7 separate regions of the Homo sapiens genome follow, and regions 2, 3, 4, 5, 6 and 7 are each linked to region 1. The links are contacts of gene promoters, found by promoter capture Hi-C in blood cells and fetal thymus (Javierre and others, 2016). All regions are on one chromosome and are shown on one strand. The core of a region is centred on a gene start or on the middle of the fragment in contact, and the rest is flanking DNA. Distances in the headings are between cores, read along the strand shown. Region 1 holds the start of PCM1 (pericentriolar material 1). Region 2 overlaps MTMR7 (myotubularin related protein 7). Region 3 holds the start of LOC102724838 (a long non-coding RNA gene). Region 4 overlaps ZDHHC2 (zDHHC palmitoyltransferase 2). Region 5 overlaps VPS37A (VPS37A subunit of ESCRT-I). Region 6 overlaps ZDHHC2 (zDHHC palmitoyltransferase 2). Region 7 overlaps VPS37A (VPS37A subunit of ESCRT-I).

What was found. The method cuts DNA at HindIII sites, captures the fragments that hold promoters and counts their contacts. A CHiCAGO score of 5 or more calls a contact.
Region 2: a fragment that was not itself captured here is called in contact with the fragment with the promoter of PCM1 in region 1 in 1 of 17 cell types (neutrophils); the score reaches 6.7 in neutrophils.
Region 3: a contact is called between a fragment that was not itself captured here and the fragment with the promoter of PCM1 in region 1, in 1 of 17 cell types (neutrophils). The highest score is 12.1, in neutrophils.
Region 4: a contact is called between a fragment that was not itself captured here and the fragment with the promoter of PCM1 in region 1, in 1 of 17 cell types (neutrophils). The highest score is 6.3, in neutrophils.
Region 5: a fragment that was not itself captured here is called in contact with the fragment with the promoter of PCM1 in region 1 in 9 of 17 cell types (neutrophils, total B cells, monocytes and 6 more); the score reaches 9.2 in neutrophils.
Region 6: a contact is called between a fragment that was not itself captured here and the fragment with the promoter of PCM1 in region 1, in 2 of 17 cell types (neutrophils and naive B cells). The highest score is 8.0, in neutrophils.
Region 7: a contact is called between a fragment that was not itself captured here and the fragment with the promoter of PCM1 in region 1, in 13 of 17 cell types (neutrophils, naive B cells, monocytes and 10 more). The highest score is 12.1, in neutrophils.

Annotation. Positions count from the first base shown.
Region 1 is chr8:17,921,517-17,924,472 of GRCh38, reverse strand. It overlaps PCM1 (pericentriolar material 1), which reads right to left and starts at 1,485. Exons shown (of 39, transcript NM_006197.4): 1 at 1,285-1,485. It overlaps LOC124901867, which reads left to right. Exons shown (of 4, transcript XM_047422505.1): 2 at 246-316; 3 at 707-964; 4 at 1,127-2,956. The coding sequence ends at 1,809. RefSeq lists enhancers at 458-517, 1,668-2,117 and a silencer at 979-1,273. The HindIII fragment of the contact is 6,694 bases long and covers 1-2,956 here.
Region 2 is chr8:17,309,399-17,312,698 of GRCh38, reverse strand. It overlaps MTMR7 (myotubularin related protein 7), which reads left to right. Exons shown (of 14, transcript NM_004686.5): 9 at 1,063-1,188. It also overlaps a transcript of VPS37A not described here. Among named protein-coding and RNA genes, the nearest start is that of VPS37A, 64 kb to the right of the region's middle. The HindIII fragment of the contact is 1,932 bases long and covers 877-2,808 here.
Region 3 is chr8:17,345,015-17,347,955 of GRCh38, reverse strand. The region is part of intron 5 of MTMR7 (myotubularin related protein 7); the gene reads left to right. LOC102724838 (a long non-coding RNA gene) reads right to left here and starts at 2,911. Exons shown (of 4, transcript XR_428318.4): 1 at 2,711-2,911. The HindIII fragment of the contact is 1,689 bases long and covers 495-2,183 here.
Region 4 is chr8:17,198,302-17,201,291 of GRCh38, reverse strand. It overlaps ZDHHC2 (zDHHC palmitoyltransferase 2), which reads right to left. Exons shown (of 13, transcript NM_016353.5): 6 at 2,879-2,911. Among named protein-coding and RNA genes, the nearest start is that of ZDHHC2, 43 kb to the right of the region's middle. The HindIII fragment of the contact is 1,490 bases long and covers 707-2,196 here.
Region 5 is chr8:17,279,472-17,282,369 of GRCh38, reverse strand. VPS37A (VPS37A subunit of ESCRT-I) reads right to left here. Exons shown (of 12, transcript NM_152415.3): 7 at 2,215-2,342; 8 at 2,073-2,131; 9 at 1,927-1,995. Among named protein-coding and RNA genes, the nearest start is that of VPS37A, 34 kb to the right of the region's middle. The HindIII fragment of the contact is 672 bases long and covers 933-1,604 here.
Region 6 is chr8:17,217,015-17,220,241 of GRCh38, reverse strand. ZDHHC2 (zDHHC palmitoyltransferase 2) reads right to left here. Exons shown (of 13, transcript NM_016353.5): 12 at 2,996-3,070. The coding sequence ends at 3,030. Among named protein-coding and RNA genes, the nearest start is that of CNOT7, 28 kb to the left of the region's middle. The HindIII fragment of the contact is 4,516 bases long and covers 1-3,227 here.
Region 7 is chr8:17,261,054-17,264,424 of GRCh38, reverse strand. The region is part of intron 1 of VPS37A (VPS37A subunit of ESCRT-I); the gene reads right to left. Among named protein-coding and RNA genes, the nearest start is that of VPS37A, 16 kb to the right of the region's middle. The HindIII fragment of the contact is 3,479 bases long and covers 1-3,371 here.

The DNA of each region.
Region 1 (2,956 bases), core at 236-2,735:
ATTTCGGAACAGTGTAACAAAGATGGTTAGCCCTAACTATCCTTTAATAGTCTATGCCAAAGTTTACTCCTCTGATTGATCGAGCTTCCTGTTACTCAAACTATGTAACAACCTCGTATATCCGATGATTTTAAAAATGTTTGCTCATTTAAAAGCTACTGTACTTCATAATAAAATAACCTCGTCACTACATAAATACCAGGTTTACCTTCAATTCAAAAACTCTGTATTATATTGGTGTTCAGGGGTCCTCACCAGGAAGGTGCTAGGGAAAGAAAGGAGCAGGTGCACCCGAGGCTCTGCAACACCCACTCCGGTAACCAGAGAACACCAGCAGGCGGAGTCTGGAAAGCGGTTATGGGGCGGGGGTGGTAGGGGCGCCCAGAAAGCCCGCTCCTTCCAGCGCCCAAACACGAACCGTCACCCGTAAGACACACAATACAGACCTCAACTCGCTCAAAAAAACAAAACAAAACAAAAAAAATTAAACCAGGCGAGTTCCTGGGGAGTAGGCTGAGGGATGCAAAGTTGGCGCGCCCAGCCTCCCTGGCGGGGCCTAATCCCCAAACGCCAGTTTCTGTAAACCAAACAACGTTTCCCCCAGTCCCACTTGGCATTTAGTCTTTCCCGGTTCTAGGCCCAATTCTAACTAGATAGGTAGGAAGGGAGAAAGAAGGGGCAATAATTACTCCATTAACCTTCCCAGGAACGCCTCCCCCGGCCCATCGGCTCCCACAGCACCAGAGACGGCGGAAATCCTGCAGCTCACAGCCCAACTGCAACTCTTCAGAGTCGCGTCGCTCCTCATCCGCCCTTCTACACCCCAAACTCTGGACACCGAGAGTTCCACAGAGGGAACGCGGGGAAGAACTATGGCCACCAAGGCCTGTTTCTCTAAGAACTCGACCCAGTGCCCCTAGCACCCAAACCAGAGTCCCCGCTCCGCTTCCTCCGCCCGCAAGGGGTATAGCCGGAGCCACCGGGACGCAGAACAGCCTCCCCGACAGGGCCAGCAGGAGGGGCGAGGAGGCAAGAAGGGAGTCCTGCAATCACCAACGCGTCGCGAGGTGCTCACCCGGGGATCCCGGCGATCAGTCCTGAGGGAGCGGGCGGACTGACCGCCTAGGGCACGGGAAGCCCGGGGCAGGAAGACCCGGGAACCTACAGAGGAGGCGTGGGCCCGTGGCCAGACCCAACAGGGCCGAGTGTCCCGGAGCCGTTACTCTCCCGCCTCTGGGGCGCGCCGCCCTAGGTTGCCAAGGGCTGGGGACGCGCAGGCATTACCTCTACAAGAAGCAGCCTCTCCTGTCAAAGGCAGAGCGACAGTCAGCCCCCACGACCCGCCGCCGGCAGCGGTCGGCCCTCGGAGACCGCAGCAGAGAGGCCCACACGTTTCCTGGCTGCCTCGGCCCCAGTGGCCGCCTTTTCGACCTCAGCTACGCAGCGCCAACCGCCGCAGCCACCGCCATCTTAGGATCTCATTGTGGTGGGAGAAGAGGGGCGGGGGTACTGCAGAGGGGGCAACGCGCGGCGGGACATGCGCCGTCTCCTCGGCAACGGCCGCGCGGGGGCGAGAACTCGCCCGGGCGGGAGCCGCAATGCGAGCTAGACTGGAGTCATGTGACCCGCCGGAGTCTGTGGTGTCGCTTCTGGCTCTTTAAGCCGAAAAGAGATTACACCAACGAATCCGCCCCCACCCGCCCAGGAACTATGTATCCCAGAATGCCAACTAGACCTCGCGTTCTAAACGCCTGCCGGCCACAGGTGGAGGACTACAAATCCCAGCATGCCGTGCGCTTCCGGCGCTGATCGCGGAGCGTGGGGCCCTAGGCCTATGCGGAAGTGCATTGATCCCTCAGCCCGTGGAGAAAGAGCGGAGGCGCTGTGCGGTTTTCCGTGGGGGTGTCAGCTCCGGCCCGTGCCGGAAGAAGGAGCCAAGACCGGGATCGCTTTTTTGCCCCTTCCTCACCCCACATTCGGTCACGAAGAGGTGGAAACAAAAGGACACTTACAATGTAGTCCAACCTCCTGATTTTACATATGAGGGGATTGTTCCACGGAAGTTAAACAATTTGCCAGACGTCATTATGTATCTACTGAGTGAGAGAATCATAAATATTGTTGATAGTTAACGCCACTTTTGGTTAATGTCCCTTTTCCTTAAAAGAGCCAGATGATTTTAATCCAAACTTAATTTCAGTAAATTTTCTCTGAACTATCTTTTTATTTATACTCTCCTGTTACAGCTCTATTAAGATTAATAAATTGGCAGGTCCTCCCTTTAAAAAACAAAAATCAATAAAGTCACAAGGCCTTCAATGTGCCTGACTGGAAAGGTAAAACACCTGTCAGTTTTAGTTGAGTGCAAGGGCATTCTTCTAGTTTTACGCAGTTTATAATTATGGAATAACTTTTTAAGCAAAATAAAGGTAAAAAGAAGAATTGCATTCTGGGTTTCAACAACAAAAACAAATTGTTCCCAAAATAGTAGGTCTGCATCTCAGTACGCAATTCACATAAAGCTCTTCTATCCCACTGCAATCTGCCACCGTAGGTTCAGTCGTGAGTGCATTGATCGTTGGTCAGACACTTTTTCCTCATATTCTGTGTGTGTATCGCTAACTACTGCGGTAGCAAAAATATAGTCCCTGCCCTTGAAGAGCTCATATTTTAGTGAAGGATGCGGAAGTGGAGTGTGATGTAAATAAAGTTTGTGTTGTAAGAAAAAGTGCTGTGGGAGCTCAGAACACAGCAGCTAAACGCTCAGGTGTTTATTGTAGTCCAGAATGCCCTATCCTAATTCCACCACTCCAAGATCCTGGACAAGCGACGTGCCTTTCTGAGCCTTAATTGCCCCATCTATGAAATGAGGGGGAAGGAATGATACTGCCTACCTTGAAAGGATTTTTTAAAAAATGTTCTCAGAGTTTGTTTTATGCCAGGCACACTGTAAAGC
Region 2 (3,300 bases), core at 593-3,092, 610 kb after region 1:
GCCAGGTACTATTCTAGATTTTACAGATGTGATGTGAATAAGGCAGATCAAGTCTCTTCCCTCACAGAGCTTATATTCTGCTGGGGGAGACAGAGAATTTTTTTTTTTTTTTTTTTTTTTTTTTGAGAGGGAGTCTCGCTCTGTCACCCAGGCTGGAGTGCAGTGGCACGATCTCAGCTTGCTGCAACCTCTGCCTCCCAGGTTCAAGCGATTCTTCTGTCTCAGCCTCCCAAGTAGCTGGAATTACTGGCACGCGCCACTATGCCTGGCTAATTTTTGTATTTTTAGTAGAGACGGGGTTTCACCATGTTGGTCAGGCTGGTCACGGACTCCTGACCTCAGGTGATCCACCCGCCACGGCCTCCCAAAGTGCTGGGATTACATGCGTGAGCCACTGCCTCCAGCTGAGACAGAGTATTAATAAACTAATAAAACTAGAATTTTAGGTAGTGATAAATGCTATGATGAAATCTCTCCCATGTTTCCCAGCGTATGTTAACTGCCAAGATATTTAGTAAAAAATGATGTGCATTTGCAATAGCAAATAGATATTCTTTTCTTACTGGAGATTTTCTGGTGTCATTTTTACTTTTGTTTTTTCCTTTCCTCAACCTTACATCCATTACTTGACGCTTACCTTTTATTTATAACTTCATAGGTCTGTAATTTATAACTTTTTTGCCTTTTCCTTTTTGGAAATGGCTGGGGCCAGTAGCAACTCCAGAATTTCAGTAAGGCTTAATGTGGAAACTCAGAGGGGAGGGAAGAGGGTTGAAGGTCCGTTTGCATAGGACGAATGCTTATGTTTAGTAAGTACATGCGCTTATTGGAGGTGACTTGAGTGGTGGCTTCTGGATAGAATGGGAAGGGAAAGCTTTAGCTGCCAGCACCAGGCCACTCTGGCTCTGCCCTAATTAGGGGGGGCCCTAAACAGACGAATGGACAGGTGTTTCGTTTTGGCTGTTTCTTTCTGTAAATATACAGTCAAACCTGGCTGTGATGAGAGGTTCTGCCTTTTTACAGCCATTCTTTGTGACTCTTTGCGGATCGTGTGTTTTCTAGGCAGTGTCAGAGGAAGGGGCAAGTGTGCTTGTTCACTGTTCTGATGGCTGGGACAGGACCGCTCAGGTGTGCTCGGTGGCAAGCCTGCTGCTGGACCCTCACTACCGGACTCTGAAGGGCTTCATGGTGAGTGTGGCCACTGGGCGATTCCCACAGGCGGTGCCTTGACCAGGAATGGACCCCTGTTTTTACAACTACTGGCAACTGCTGTTTTCTTGCCAGCATTATTTTTCTTTTAGTAGCTCAGCAAGATTAAAGGGGAAGAGATCAAGATTAATTTAATCAGCAAGATTAAAGGGGAAGGCTTGGAATAAAGAGATGAATTTCTGGGATATTGAAACCATTTCAAGTCAATGCTACTGAATGAGTTTTGGGGCAAATATAAAATATATTTGGTAGTTTGTAAGCCAATTTTATATATCATTTGCTCATAAGTATTTCAAGTTTGAGGTAACATGAATATGTAACAGAAGACTTTTTAGAAAAAATATTTTGGGAAGAAATTTTCTATATTGTGTATGCCAAAAGTCCTTGGTAGGAAAAACTGTTTTCACTTCCAGGGTATGTTTTTTAAGTAGTCCTTCACACCCCTGGATGAGAATGCTGAAAATTTCACAGCCTTTTGTTGTTGTTCTTTGCTGAAATGACGAGTATATCCTGTAGAGTTTGAGCTTTTTAGGTGGGCATCAAATGTAACGTTGCTTTCAACTACAGAGTATTGTATATAGTTGCCTGGGATGGTGAAGTTTTCACTAATCTGGTATAAGTTCCTTAAAATGAATTCACCTCTTAACCATGATTTGGTAGACAGTGCTTCAGTGAATCATGAATCCGTGCTACACAAGATGCTGACAAAGGAGTCCTAATGGAATATCTTTACTGCTGGGTCTCCATTATTGAGTAATATCAGCAACACCCTCGGACAAGAGCGAAGAGGCAGGCTCCCTCTCTGGGATGTTTTTCTTTTTTTGGAAGTGTCTGAGAACTTCCAATTACCTGTGATAGCATTGACACCTCAAAGTGATACCCTTGCTTCAGATCCCTGCTGGACTGAAGTCAGGAGGGCTGGATTGCTTCATTTGCATTTGGAGAGTAAAGAGGTTGCCAGTCACACACTGCCCTTAGGCTCTTCTCCTGCACACATGCGTTTCCATCATCAACTTGTTCTCATTGTGCCCCATTAAACTTACAACCCAAAGAAAATGTCTCGAGTTGTCAAGAACAGACTTCCACTAGTTCATATTTCTTTGTAAGGGGAAATCTCTGGCCACTTTAAAGCATTGGGGATATTGATGAGACTATCCATATTACTTGACTGAACACTTTTTAAAATCCAGGCTGGGTGTGGTAGCTCACACCTGTAATCCCAGCATTTTGGGAGGTTAAGGAGGGAGGCTTGCTGGAGCCCCAGAGTTTGAGACCAGCCTGGGCAACATGGCGAGACCTCGTCTCTATAAAAAATTAAAAAAAAATTAGCCAGGTGTGGTGGAGCCCACCTGTGGTCCCAGCTACTTGGGCTGAGGTGGGAGGATCGCTCGAGCTCAGGAGGTCAAGGGTGTAGTGAGCCATGATCTCATCACTGCACTCCAGCCTACGTGGCTGAGTGAGATCCTGTCTCAAAAATAAATTTTAAAATATAAAACAATATAAAATACAAAACCAAAATAAATACTTAAAAATAATAATCTGGACTGCCTCAGACTTAGAAATTCATGTTAACCCTAATTTCAAAGCAGGGCTGAAGCTTTGAATATACCCCAAACACCATCATTTTAGAATTCTTATAATGTGTAGAAAAGATCACTGAAAAACTTCCCAGTTGTTTTTGTAAAGAGGTTGGTAATTTACATTACACTGAGAGGCAGCATCACACATTGGTTGAGATAGGGTTTGAAGTGGAGAGACCTGGGCTGTGAAGTGGGGTCTCCTTCCTAGTAGCATGATCTTGGGCGAATATGAAACCTCTTTCCTTCGGTTTCCCCTTCTAAAAGAGTGAGAATACCTATCCTACAGTTAGAGATCATACGTAAAGCAATGTGAACAGTGCCTGGCACATAGGAAGCATTCAGCGGGTGGGGTTCCTGCATTTTTATACATCCATTTCCACTCACTGTTCCCATGGATGACCTTCAACTTTGCCTTTGCCATGTGCATCTCTATATGGGTGGATAATGCCTGTTCATGCATTTGCAGGTTACTCGAGGATGGGGACTTCTGCAAGTGCCTCTGAATTCCTCA
Region 3 (2,941 bases), core at 90-2,589, 580 kb after region 1:
CCTGGTGCAAGAGGTCACTTCAGTACAGTCACCACCCACACACTGCAGGTGGCAGGTGACGGAGGGCTAATGTTGTGTGCCCAGCTTTTTAAGGAAGGCTTCCAAAAACTGCCACGTGACACCTCCCTTTCATCAGAATTGCACAGGGCAGGTGTGGAAGTACAGTGTTATGGGTGGCCATTAAAATAGCTAAAACTTAGAGTTCCATTTCTGCGGAGGATAGGAAAACAAATTCGGATGAGCAAGAATGGTCTTTGGCACCCACTTTTAAAAGGTAGCAAAAAACCACCTTTAAAAAAGGTGGTTTAAAAAAACAAAATGTTCTTTGGTTCTAGCAAGGTGAGAGAGAAACTTTAGTTTTTAAGCTAGATAATATACTTCTGGATTCAAAGCCGAGTGAGGCTATAAACACAGGAGATTGTGTGAGTGTGTATCCACATGCCTGCACCTACAGCCGGGGGGTAGAGCAGGGTCTCAGTCAGATTCTAGAAGCTTCCAAAAATATCTGGAGCAATGCCAGCTTCATCAGAGTGAGCACATAGCCCTCTCTGTTGCTACTTTGAAGGAAAATATTAATTTGGTGGTGAAAGTTCTGTGAATTGGATAAAAATTATTTTTAGTTATACTCATTGCTCTTCTTCTTTTCCTAGCCTTGAATTAGGGTCTAAAGTATTTTATTAACTCTGAATGTATTTCAGCTTGCACAGAGCTGGAGCACTGGTTAGAGGCAAAGGAAGATGTGATTTTTTTTTTTTTTTTTCGGAAACAAGATCTCACTTGTCGCCCAGGCTGGAGTGCAGTGGCACAATCTTGGCTCACTGCAGCCTTGACCTCCCCAGACTCAAGTGATCTTCCCATCTCAGCCTCCCGAGTCACTGGGACCACGCGTGTGCCACCCGGCCCAGCTAATTGTTTTGCATTTTTTGTAGAGACGAGGAAAGCCATGTTGCCCAGGCTGGTCTTGAGCTCCTGTGCTCAAGTGATCTGCCTGCCTCGGCCTCCCAAAGTGCTGGGATTACAGGTGTGAGGCGCCGCCCCTTGCCTCTTTTTTTTTTTTTTTTTTTTTTTTTTATTAAGATAGGATAAATAGAGATAGGAAGTTTCATGATGTTGCACTTGAAATTAGGTTGCTGGTAACATGCACATTTTTTTTTTTGTAGCATCCATTGATTAAAGAAGAGAGAAGATGAATCCAGGAGAGGGAGAAACGATCTTTTATTGTTGTTTCAGAGGTGTTTTATTGTTGTCTGTAGAATATTTAAAAAGTGAGCACAGTGTGCCTAGCAACTCCCTTTTTATATTCTTGAGACAAGGGACATTTTACTTTTTGTCAATGTGAGTAGTATCAGGATTAAATATGTATTGTCTCAGAAAGAGAATTTTTAGCAGTTAGACCTCAGAGGCAGCTTCTTCCCCGGCTGACCTCAGACCCACATGGCTCCACGCCTGCTCCCCCAAGTGCTATTTTACTGAACCTCCAGGCCTGAAAATGAACTCACACAGCATAGTTAGAGCTTAAGAGTATTCATTGCCCATATTTAAGATTTTAAAGCAGAAACAACCTGAAGCTCTAGCTCTTCTTCCAAGGTACAGAACAGAGATGTGTCTCGAAGCAGCGCTGCGTGATCGGGTTACCCCAGGGAAGTCCCGAGTGAGCACACACCTGCCCGCCCACTCTCCCACCCCATGAACTGAAATCTATTTTGCAGGTGGAATAATGATCAAATTTGTGTTTTATAACAATGTTTACATTTTAATATCAAGGTTAATTATATAAATGCTTCTGATTTGACTAGGGCTTTTCCTAAAGGGAAGTATTATTACCAAAGGTGGATTTCTGTGCTTAATGGAAGACACTGAAATACCAGAGTAGTTATCTGTGCTGTCATTGCTCATCGATGGCCGTATAGAAAACAGGCAGTCTCCCACAAAAAGTAAACAGGTACACATTCCATAAATTTGCTGATCTGTCTTTCTTCTCTTTGGTTATTTGAGACATTTTAGGCTTAAAGAGTATGTATTCCTACCCCCAAAGAATTTATGCTTATGAATAAGGATACTACATTTTATAGTGAAAATACTGTTTCCCACGTATGCTACCAAAGGGACACTTTTGATTTTGGTGGTGAGATGACTTGGCTAATTTTGGGCACTGGGAACTGGTGATCAGATTAGGAGAAGCTTGAAGTGCACGAGATTTTATGAACCTGAAGTTCTGTTCAATATAAAGGCCCCTGTGGAGGGTCCATCTTTCCCTTTGTATCAGCTGTTACCACATGTAGTGTTAGGTTGGTGCAAAAGTAATTTCAGTTTTTGCCATTACTTTTAATGGATGTAATCACATTCTTTCACCCCTGTGGTGAGGGAGGGATTCCTGCTCTAGGTTACAGGGACAGCCAGACACACAGCACTTGACACTGGGCAGGTGAGATGAACAGTCACATATACTCACTGCCAAGGGGAGGAGGACACCACAGCCCATGAAGGGGCACATGAGGTTGCGCTGAGGAGCAGAGTGACAGCCAGGGGCTGTGAGAGGCAGGCTGTGTAGTATCAGGAGCGTGGGGTCACCCTTGGTTCCCACAGGAGGATGTGATTAGCTTGCGTGCATCATTCCATGACTGGCAGGGAACTAAAACCTGCTTCTGGGGGACGGGCAGGAACTGCACCTGGTCTGTTGGATAAGAATTGTTTCACTTGGGAACCTTACCTGCAGGAGCAGAGCGTGGCAGGGAACTTGCAGTGAGGCCATTTGAGGCCCTCTCGGTTTTACCAGATGTCGAAGCAACACATAATATTAATTTTAGGCCTTACGCACATGGGTTATGTAGAGCCACGTGGGCTCCCTTTGAATATCCAGCTATTAACAGCTTTATAGATCATGGTTAGAGATGCTTAGTCATGTGCGTTCGGAATTCTGTGCATCTTTCTTTGAGAGTTC
Region 4 (2,990 bases), core at 202-2,701, 720 kb after region 1:
ACTTGTACTAAAAATAAATAAATAAATAACAAGGGGGTTTATAGGCTATGCACACATACATTGAGATCTGAAAAGTGCCATGACGTTAACAATCCTGGTTCTCTGTGCATAGTGGAAGAAGGTGGGGAGAGGGACTGGGAAGAACATGGCTACCTGTTTTATTTTTGAATTTGGAACCAAAAGCATGTTATTACCTATAGACTTTTTTATTTAAAACTTTAATTTGAAATTAAAAAATTAAATACAATGGCTGCTCCATTCAGCTGGCACCAAGTGAGTAACAGACCCTTGGCATCAAATCCTTCACAAGTCAACATGGCTGCTGCTTTCTGCAAGGGAGTACTCAGAGCTAGGACAGTGGTGGAGACAGTGGATGCCGCAAGGGAAGTGATGGGGAAGTGAACAACGACACAGGTTAAAAGGTACCGCAGTCAGTTCATTCACCTTCCCACACTGCCACCTAAGGGTGGAGTAACAGCAGGTGGTGTGTAGGCATGCCATGGAACCTATTTTTAAAAATTCTAGGGTCTCATTTCTGTTGTTCTCCTTCACTTATTTAACAGAATCTGTGAAAACTGTAAAGGCTATCAGACTGTAAGTATCTCATGAGGCCAAATTAACTGTTGATTTAGCAAAATTACTATAATGATAAATTATTATTTTCTCTTTTTGTAATTTTGTGAGTACAGCAAGGGCATGGGAAGCTTTATAGGTATGTACTGACCTGATTTTTTTCCACCTCTCCATTCCTTGTCATCACAATCCCTTATTAAGGTCAGACAAATCAAAATCAACACTATGCCTATGATGACTACCACTCTGCTGAATATATCTGGAGTATACAGTTATCCAGAAAGGAGGGTGCTTAACATGGGTTTACCCCAAAGCAGACTCTGAGACAAGAACTTGGATGCAGTTCATTTGAGACAGGAAGGATAAAGCATTTTTTACCGGCCAGGCTGTCACTGGTTGAGGGTTGCCCCTGGAGGTATGAATGCCTTGGCACTTCTGGACTGCCTGGCTTGTGAGCTGAACGAAACTACCCAGGTAGAAGAGACCCCCTCAGGCAGAGAAGAAAAGAAACACAGGTGCCTGAATGGGGAGCTGCCAGCAGGTACGGGAGATGTTCACCAGATGCCATGAATTCAGCAGGTGGGTCATGGGGATACAGGTGGGGCACTGACAGCAGCTGCAGGGGAAGTCAACAAATGAATGTAAGGAGAATTAAGAAGACGTTGGCCAGGCATGGTGGCTCGCGCCTGTAATCCCAGCACTTTGGGAGGCCAAGGCGGGCGGATCACAAGGTCAAGAGTTCGAGACCAGCCTGGCCAATATGGTGAAACCGACTCTACTAAAAGTACAAAAATTAGCCAGGTGAGGTTACAGGCGCCTGTAGTCTGGCTACTCAGGAGGCTGAGGCAGGAGAATCGCTTGAACCCGGGAGGCAGAGGTTGCAGTGAGCTGAGATCACGCTACCGCACTCCAGCCTGGGCGACAGAGCGAGACTCTGTCTCAAAAAAAAAAAAAAAGAAGAAGAAAGAAGAAGGACGAAGAAGGAAAAAGAAGAAAGAAGGAAGAAGAAAGAAGGAAGAAGGAGAAAGAAGAAAAGAAGAAGAAGAAGGAGGGAGGAGGGAGGAGGGAGGAGGAGGAGGAGAAGAAGAAGAAAGGAAGAAGAAGAAGAAGAAAGAATAAAGAAGAAGAAAGAAGAAGAAGAAGACAAAGACGAAGAAGACGAAGACGAAGACAGAAGACGAAGACAGAAGACGAAGACGAAGACGAAGAAGAAGAAGAAGAAGAAGAAGAAGAAGAAGAAGAAGAAGAAGAAGTCTTATTAAAGACACTGGGGGAGAGGGAACACTTGTTGTAAAAAAAACCAGAAAAGAAAACTGGGGGCAGGGGGGCAAAAGAATGAGTGCAAGTATCAATTAGTACGAAGGGGGCGTTATTTATTGAGACCTTTAAGAAGAGTGCCATTCTTGTATGGGTTGACTAGCCTGAACGCTTTAAAGGAGAAAATCGAGGTGGAGAAAAGAAAGAGGTATACTGGTGAAAGATACAGGATACCATAATCCTACATTCCCCTGGGAATCTTTCCTGCTGCTAAGAAAACCATTCCCTACATATATTTCACCCTATACCTACTGTGGACCTGTGGGCATGTCTACCTTTCTGTAGAGCCATCCCTGAAAGAAAGCTTGAAGAATAAGCATTACTCACGCCCAAATCCAACCTGGCCAGCAACCTGGGCATGACTGTCAGAGATATGCCTACACTGAGATGAAAAATTATAGGAAAAGGAAGGAAAATTAACCTTACTAATCAGATCTTTCAAATAATCCTCTGTTAAATTACCTGATTTCGTGACTGAGAAATATTAGCAAATATTAATGAATTCTATGTGGAAAATCTTGTTTAAATTTATGTGTGCATTTGTATATCTGTGTAGTTGTATTCTACTCCTTAATGTCAAATTCTGTGTAAAATAAATTGTTAAAAAGCTTTTGATGACTTAATTCTTTATAAAAACCTTCCAGTGAGGTACTATGTATAATTTACTTGTACATCTTTGTGTGTATTTCTGTGAAGTATTCTGGAATCTCTGTTCATGCACATGCATACAAACAAAATCCTTTGTTCTGAGCTAACATGCGATATTAACTTTTAGGTTGTTAACCTACTGGTTTTAAAAGTATTTCATGGAAACTCCCCTAAATAAAGGCTCTTTTAAGTTAAACAAATATTAGAAACTAAATCCAAAAGTTCCTGCTATGTCAACTCAAGTAATATTTCATGTGTGAAAAGATTTACATGGATAAGTGATTTAATTTATTAACATTTACAAGGGACACAAACTTGTTTAAATATACAGCCAACTCACCATGGACAATGATGATCCATCTTCAAAATACATCTAAAAAACAAAGCAGAACACAAAACCTAATACCCCATGAAATTTTAATCATATTAAATTATAAAAATATAAATTATGG
Region 5 (2,898 bases), core at 19-2,518, 640 kb after region 1:
GCAGTTTATCTGTAATAAACTTTCTGTGTATTGTATGATACAATGATCTAACCTTTTTCTAAATGGATACTAAATAACCAATTTTATAATTTATTGAATCCTCAATTTTTTCCAACTGATTATTCACATACACAAGTCTATTTTTGAACTACATAGTCTGTTCCATAGAAATAATTTTCTCTTCCTATAAAACTACTATACTGTTTTAAATAATGAGGATTTACAGTGTATTCTGATACTGGGAAAGGGAGTTTTTTTCATTTTTTCTTTTTGTTCAAGCTCTTCCTGACTACCCATCTGAAAAATAAAGTTTCAGATGAACTTTAGAATAAACTGTTAAGATAAAAAAAATATTCTTGGCATTTTGATAAGAACTGTATTCAATTTCTAAGTTATTTTGGGGAGAATGAAATCTTTTTAATAATGGATCTTTCATTCAATGAATATTCTATGCTGCTCTAAATAGTCTTAGAAAATACAAAACTCAGCTCTTCTTTTATGGCATTCAATAAAGTTTCCTAACTTACTTCATTGGGTTTACTTCTAAGTACTTTACAATTTTGTTCCTATGGTAAATGAGTTGTTTTCTGTACTTCATTTTGCAGTAGTAATTGCTGGAGCAAACAGGAAAAAATTTCTCAGTTCTCTAGAATTTTTGATTGTTTATTTTTGGTAAACAACTGTTTCATTTCTTCTTTTTATGTTATACCACTTTTTTTTGGTCTTGCAGTACTCAAAACCTCCCAAACAACGTTAAACAGCAGTGATCATGAGGCATTACTCTCTTATTCCTAACATTAATGGGATCCTAGAAATGTGTAGTAATTGTGAGGTTTACTGCTGGTTTCTAGTATTCTTTTTCAAATAAGAAATTTCTATTTTTAGTTTACTAAGAGTTTGTATAAAGAATGATGTTGAGTACTATGAAAGCTTCTTCAACATTTACTAAGGTCCAGTATATATCTAACAGTACTTCAGTTGAGTCTCACAGATTTTCTGTGAAGGAGGACTGCTTAGGTTACACTCCTAACTAATGTTTCTACTTGTATGACCTCAAGAAATTTATTTAATCTCCCTGTGCCTCAGTTTCCCTATCTGTAAAATGTAAAATGGGAAAAAGTAACAATACCTATTTCATAGGATTTGGTGTAATAATGGCCCAATATACGTAAATAGCTTCATGCGGTGCAAGACATATTAATTGCTCAATGTTAGCTATTATTTCTTTATTCTGACAAATGACCGTATTATCTGAAATTCATTATAAATTTATATTCTCCTTTACCATCTTTTTTGCTGTTGTTGGTTTATGTCTATTTTATGTTTTATTTCATTGACTTTACCCAAAGTTCCTAATTTTACAGGAAACAGAATATTAACTATGAGGTTGTTATTGGTATGATACAAAGATTATGTCCTCTGGTTCCTTTTCAAAGATTCCTTTTTTTTCAGAAATATAGGTTGAATTTTATAAAATTCTTTTGATTTTCACATAACTGGATTTCTAGCATAAAACTTATTTGTAGCAGATAATACTATATATTTTTCATATATTATTCTTTTTAATTTGCGAACTTTTCATTTAAGGTATTTGTAGATAAGCTTACAAGTGAGTCGAAAGTTTTTGTTGTTATTGCTAGGTTTCACTACAAGTGTTACAATGGTTTCATAACTTACCCAGAAAAGTTATGTGTCAGGGCCTGTCATAATTTTCTGTTTTAGAAACAAATACGCTCTTATATGAGCACAAATAATGTATGATGCCTCATCACTGAGAGCTGTTCATCCACGTTTAAAGGTATCATGTCTTATAAGGTCAGATACCTCATAAATGGTTTCTGATGATAATGAAAGTGAGATCAGGACTCATGCACATAAGATTAAAAAAAAAATCTATGGCAAAGGGAAAAAAATAAACAGTCTTACCTCACTAAGTTCATGCTGCCTTTGCATCTTCTTTTCGAAAGTGGACTTCATCTGTGTAAGTAATTCATACTAAAAGAGAAAATGAAAAGGTTGTTTTATTCTATTTTTAAATTATGTAAATTTCTTCAAAATTATCACTAACTCACCTTATCTAAAACAGTTTGTCTTTTGGCTTCCAAGCTGGGCTCCAAAAGGAGATTTTTTCCTGTAAGATAAATCTCTAGTTTACTTCTAGGTAAAGATGAGATTTTTTTCAGGAAATGTGCGCTCAGGAGAGGGAAAACATACTTGCTAGTTCCTCAATACTTTTTACTAAGTCATCTTTGTCGGTAATAATTTGTTTTAGTTGAGGCAAAGTCAGAAACTGTTCTAGTAATACCTCCTCTTGTTCATTCATATCTGTGAGTTGTGACACACTAGAAACACAAAAGAAAAAATGTCAATAAATATCAGACATCGAGTTTTTCTCCATGACAACTATTTACAATTTTTCAGCTTTAGTTAACTGATAGGGTTCTAAATAATTTTTACATATACACCTAAGGCTGCCAGTTTTAACCTTAAAATCAAATAAAACATCAACCACAATGGAACATAGAGCAGTCTGTAATATATTCTTGACAGAATCTGTAAAAGTAAATTTTGGTCCAATGGATATATCGATATATCTACTTTCTTTAAAAATCACAACCGTGGGGAAGTGTTCACAGTTATACAGTGACCTGAAATTAAAAATAAAGTCAACTTAACTCAGGTAAAGAACAATGTATGAAACTAAGGAGCTTATTCAGCTTAGGTTTCTTAAAATAGGACAGCAGTAATATAGTTAAGTATTTTTTTCTTGTTCTTAATTCTGTTTAACTTAATTGCTTGAGAATATCACTTATTTCTTAAATTTCCCTGATAGGAACCAGACTTACTGATATGTAAAATTTAAGCTATTTATTTCTTCCAAGCATAATGTTGAACACA
Region 6 (3,227 bases), core at 377-2,876, 700 kb after region 1:
GAAAACATGAAACTACTATGTTAACCATAAACACGCAAAACAAACCAACTCATTTCATAATCTGTTTCAATAATATCCCTCATTCAAAACTGTTTACTATGCTAGCAGGCTCAGTAGACGTGCTCTTGAATATGGAACTCTACATCAATACTGCTCAAACTTTAATATGCATATACGAAAGGATCCTATTAAAATGCAAAAAAAAAAATTGCAGACTCTGATTCAGTAGGTCTAGGATAAGGCCTAAGATTCTGCATTTCTATTAATCTTCCAGGTCATGACAATGTTGCTGGTTTGGGGCTTCAATGTGAGTGGCAGGGTTCTATGTTGTTAGTTCTGCATTCATCTGAGGCTGAATGGAGTTTAGGAGTGGCAACTGAGTCAGGAAGGACATTTAGGGAAATGATTTTGAAACTTCATGTGCATAGAAGCACAGCTTTGTTTTGTTTTGTTTTGTTTTTTGAGACAGGGCCTCACTCTGTCACCCAGGCTGGAGTGCAGTGATGCGATCTCCATCTCAGCTTACTGGAAATTCCGCCTCCCTGGCTCAAGTCATCCTCTCATCCTCCCACCTCAGCCTCTGGAGTGGCTGGGACCACAGGCACATGCCACCACACCCAGCTAATTTTTTTTCTTTTTGTATTTTTGGTAGAGACGGGGTTTCACCATGTTGCTCAGGCTGGTCTTCAACTCCTTAGCTCAAGCAATCTGCTTGCCTTGGCCTCCGCAAGTGCTGAAATTACAAGTGTGAGCCACCACGCCTGGCCAGCATTTTTTATTTATACCATATGATAGGAAAGGTTGGTAAGCTAAATTTAATTTACTTTTTAGTACTAACTATGGGTTTAGGCACATTATAACCATCTGGAAACTGCTGAACAAACAAATATTTTATAAAAAGGTGACATCATTTACTATTGTAGTTCAAAAATAGGAGAAAAAATATGAAGTGTTTTTTTTCTGTTTTTTTTTTTTTTTTTTTTTTTTTTAGAGTCTTGCTCTGTCACCCAAGCTCCCAGGCTGGAGTGCAATGGCACGATTTTGGCTCACTGCAACCTCTGCCTTCTGGGTTCAAGCAATTCTCCTGCCTCAGCCTCCTGAGTAGGTGGGATTACAGGTGCGCCACACCACATCCGTCTAATTTTTGTATTTTTAGTAGAGATGGGGTTTCACCTTGTTGGTTAGGCTGGTCTTGAGCTCCTGACATTGTGATCCACCCATCTCAGCCTCCCAAAGTGCTGGGATTACCAGGCGTGAGCCACCGCGCCCGGCCAATATGAAGATATTTAATATAAATTAGGCACATCAGTATCAAACTATTATTTGATATAAATACAACTGGAATGAATTGCAAATCTGAGATGTAAAGCAGGAAAAAATTATTTTTAAAAGTCTAGTTTCTATTAGCTACTTTAGGGAAAGTTTAAGAAAACAAAACATGTTACTGCAACTGGTTGTATCGATAGAATAGAAAACATGACATCAGAAAATCGGGTATTTTTAGATCTATAGCGCTGATTCATGCTGCCATTTTGTGATTATGCCTAATCATGCCATATTTGAATTAATAAAATCAAGTTTCTGTCAGATTTTTAATTTCAATGTTTTAATTTTGTCACTTATCCATCAAATGTTGAGAAACTACTATGTGTCTGGCATTGTGCAAGGTGTTGGAGATAAATAACCACAATACTGGTATTGTCAAAATACTGGGAAGTCTCGATGGCTTTTATATAATATTACCATGTAAATATGTAAAACACTTAACACACAGAAAAATTCCTAATAGCACTGACCTTAAAAACAATGGTTATTGCAACTGATGATTTCAAAATATTGAAAAAAATCCTGTGAAATTCTATGTCTTACAGAACTATGTTCTGTATATTTTATTTGTGGTATTGGCTGGTAGTGACTCATATTTGCTATAGCTATACTCTAAAATTACATTCATAGTTACATTCTAAAATTATTTTCAGAAATTTAATAATGTCTTTGCTATTTAATCAAATTCAGATGAAATTTTCACTATTTTAACCAGTTATAGTCAGTCTGACCTACTGTAGCAACAGGTATTCAGAGCTGATCCTGCTCTTCCCAAAATCAGATACTAGTCAGCTGGCAAATTGCCAGGTCAGCATTTTGCTGACAATACATGGCTAACTTACCAAAACCAGAACAGACAAATAAAAACAGATATCCATGAACTTTGATGCAAATCATTTTGTTTTACAAGTGAATCTCTTGCTTTTCATAGACTTTAGGATTCTAGATTGCCGTTATGTAAAGAGAGAGTTATCTTGCTATCTTTAATATTCAGCTCGGTAAACTGTTTATTATATAGTTGTTTGTTCCAAAGGGGTTCCTTATTGTAGCTTTTTATTGACTGCAGGCTTACAAACAGATCATATTTTAAAGAAACTGATTTGGAACTGCAGGTTTAAAAAAAAATAAGGCTTAAAGAAAATGATTTGGAACACCTATTATTTTAAGGTTAACACATGCTATAAGGCCCTACTATGACCCAAAAATGGGAATGACAGTGTGCTAATGAGTACATTAATGAGATATAATTATATTGCACTTCGACTTAGAGTTTCCTAATGGATGGTCAAGGATATGACCACTGTATATTCTGAAAGATGAAGAAAAATTAAAAATAATTATTCTAACTTCCTATAAAATGACAAGATAATTTTTACATATAGTTCAGTATTTTAGGATTGATCCCTACCACTTAATGCATTAATATAAAATGACTCTTGTTCATCAACTTATTTATATAATTAATCAAGTTAACACAAATACCAGCTAATACTGAAGCTAGGTCTGCACTCAGAAGCCCCAGCATGGCTAATGCAATCTCACAAGTCAGGTAAAAGATCTTCTATATGAATCACTCACAAATTATTAAAAATGTTTATGGAAACTATTTGCCCTAATAAAATTAGAAGACTGTTAAAAATATAAAACAATAAAGGGAAAATTATCGTACTTTTATAAAGTATGAATTTATCTTGCTTGAAGAGTTAAGTCTCATTTTCCATGGTTAATGCAGGATTGCTCATACCTTAATGAAAGCACATAAGTTAGCATTTTTGGTTGCTTTTGAACAAATAGGCAGAAACTTCTTATTCATCTATGAATAAGGAATCCCTTGGTAGACTTCCAAAGGTGCCTTGTACATAATAAGGGTATATATAAGATGGTGATATAGAAACACACAC
Region 7 (3,371 bases), core at 384-2,883, 660 kb after region 1:
TTTCTTTGGGAATTAGGTTTGGACTGAAAAACCTCCTCCCTTGTATGAACACCACATAATCAACAGAATGGCCTAAATTTTTTATTCCTCTACATTATTTTAGAACCTGAAGAGGTCATTGTTCAAGGAAATAAATACTGGTCACAAAAGCATCCACCAATTCAAAGTCAACTAGAGCATCTTAGTGATTAACAGCACTGCCTCTCAAGTCAGGCTTCCTGGGTTCAAATCCTGTCTTTACCATTTATTTACTGTCATGGGTAAGTTAAGCCTTTTCTCTCAAATGGGAAAGGGAGATGTTAAAAAAAATCTACCCACCTAAAAGATTTGTTAGATTACGCAAAATAATGCATGTAAATCCCCCAACACAGTACCAGGCAAATAAGTGTTCAATAAATGTTAGCTATTATTAAATAGGCATGTAGAACATGGAGGTTGGTCCCTCTCTAGATTTATAGTATTAAAGTTTTTTGTTTGTCTTTTTGACACGGAGTTTCGCTCTGTTGCCCAGGCTGGAGTGTGGTGACACGATCTTGGCTCACTAGAATTTCTGCCTCCTGGGTTCAAGCAATTCTCTTGCCTCAGCCTCATGAGTAGCTGGGACTACAGGTGTGTGCCACCACACCCGGTTATATATATATTTTGTAGATAAGGGGTTTCACCATGCTGGCTAGGCTGGTCTCGAATTCCTGACCTCAAGCGATCCACCTGCCTTGGCCTTCCAATGAAGTTTTAACTCCTCAGTTTTTCAGACATTGTTCAGATTTTTATAGAAAATTTTCATTGAAAACATATTAAAATAAATTTGATTTAAATAATTTTTATCTAAATAATTGGTTAGAAATGTCCAATTCATTTTCTCCAGTTATACTGATGACAGTTCCTAAAATTTTTTTTATGAGTTTTCTTCACAAACTAAGTATCACAAATAACAGAAGGTGATACTTATAATATTAATGAGAGCTGAACCATCAACAAATTCCAAAACAAGTTAATCATGGCAATCTAGAAATGCATTTTGATTAGCTGCATTAAACAACAGATAAGTACTTGTTTTACTTAATTAAAACAGGAATAATTCCCTGAATATTCATCACAAATGTGATTTTGAATGTTGCTATTTTAATACTTTTAAAAAACTTATTCCAAAACATTCATTCTCATTAAAAAAAAGTTGCCAAAAAACCACTGTAAACATATTGCTCTATAATCTTCTAAACTTCTTTGCACATTCATAGCCTCATTTAAAATAAAAATATAATTACACTGTACATCAATTTTGTAAGTTACTCTTTTCTCACTCAATTGTGATTATCTTTCCAAATTAGTAAATGTTATTTTACAATATCTTTTTTTTTTTTTTTTGAGATGGGGTTTCACTCAGTCATCAGGCTGGAGTGCAATGGCGAGATCTCGGCTCACTGCAACCTCTGCCTCCCGGGTTCAACCGATTCTCCTGCCTCAGTCTCCTGAGTAGCTGGGACTACAGGTGCACACCACCACACCCAGCTAATTTTTGTATTTTTAGTAGAGACGGGGTTTCACCATGTTGGCCAGGATGATCTCAATCTCTTGACCTCGTGATCTGCCCGCCTCGGCCTCCCAAAGTGCTAGGATTACAGGCGTGAGTCACCGTGTCCGGCCTACAATATAATTTTTAATGGCTGCATAATGTTGTAGTATATGGTCATACTATTATTTAAGCTATTTTCTACTATTAGATATTTAGATTGTTTGCAGCTTTTATTCTTACAAACCACACTTTGATAAACATTCTTATAACCATATCTTTATACTGACAGTGGTACTATTTTCAACATAAATACACACACACACACACACACACACACATACTTTAAAGTAATATTTTAATCACACCACAAGAGAAAATTTAAATGACCTGCAAATTAATAATTTCATTTTCTAGTTTCTCTGGGAGAAGAGAATTACTATGGTTTTACCTCAGTGGCTCTGAATTTGTTGGGGCTAAATAAAGCTGTAATAATATATCACTTTGTTATTAAGAATATAGATTAACTGGCATCCTCATTTCTTTGATAGTCCCCCAAATGGAAACAAATAGACCTTAATATGCTTTAGAGAATTCAAGTTCCAAAATGGTGTCACAGAAGCAAGCTGGCTTCACTTAATGTCACAGAAAACAACAAATATGTAACACTAAGATTAACACCAACGACATCCCAGAACTCAAATATGAGGATCAGTCACTTCTCAGGGCCACAGAGAAGTGAAAAAACTCTGAGCAGATGGTAAGAGAATCGGACTTCCATACCTGTGATGCCTCTCCCCACAATCTTCCCAGCATCAAGCATACAAAAAATTTCCCCTCGACTCACGATTTCTACACTGGAAAAAGTAAGATCGAGGTGAACAATCGGCTTTCCCACCATTTTTGGTTCCCTGGCAGGAGACTCATCCCTGCCTCAACTCACCAGAAGCATCATGAGGACTGAAGGGAGAAATATTCCTGAGGACAGCCAGAGACAAAGGGGAGAGGCAAGACTACCATCCTCAACCCTGGAAACTGCCCTGTCTGCAGCCAAAGAAAACACCAAATCAGAGTGCCTATTCAGCAGCTCCATGTTGTAGGAGATATATTCCACAGAAACCATGGGCAGGAACCGTTTGCCAGCCTTCCCACACTGTTGGGATATCCCCTTTGGGAGCTCCCCCATTAGAGATGGGCACTGCTCCAGGTACTTATTAGAGCCAAGGCAAACCTGGGTTTAAAGTGCCACTGAGAACCAAAAAGGAGGCAGAAACCTTACAGTAAAGAGTCTTTAAGCAAATACATTCAATAAAACCAAAACAAGCCAGAGAGAGAAGACCAGAATAAATAACTAATTCGTCAAAGTAAAGACATAGACGCACATCCGCAGGAAACAAGAGCAAACAGGGAGCCTGACTTCCCTAAGCGGATGAAACAAAGAACAAATGACTGACCCTAATGAGATAATAATATGTAAGCTCTCTGAACAAGAATTTAAATAGTAGATTTAAGGAAACTCAGTGATCTCCAAGATAAAACAAAAAATTCAGAAATTTATCAGAGAAATTTAACAAAGAGATTTAAGTAATAATAAACAATTAAACAGAAATGTTGGAACTGAGAAATATGTTTGCTGAACTGAAATACATTAGAGGCTCTCCATGGCAGAATGGATCAGGCAGAAGAAACAATCAGTAAACCTGAAGACAGGTTATTAGAAAATACACAGTAAGAGAAAGAAGAAAAAAGACTGAAAAGAAATGAAGACCACCTACGAAATACAGAATATTGCCTCAGAAGACCACATCTAAGAATTACTGGTGTTCAAAAAGAAGTTGAGCCAGAGGAATGGGTAGAAAGC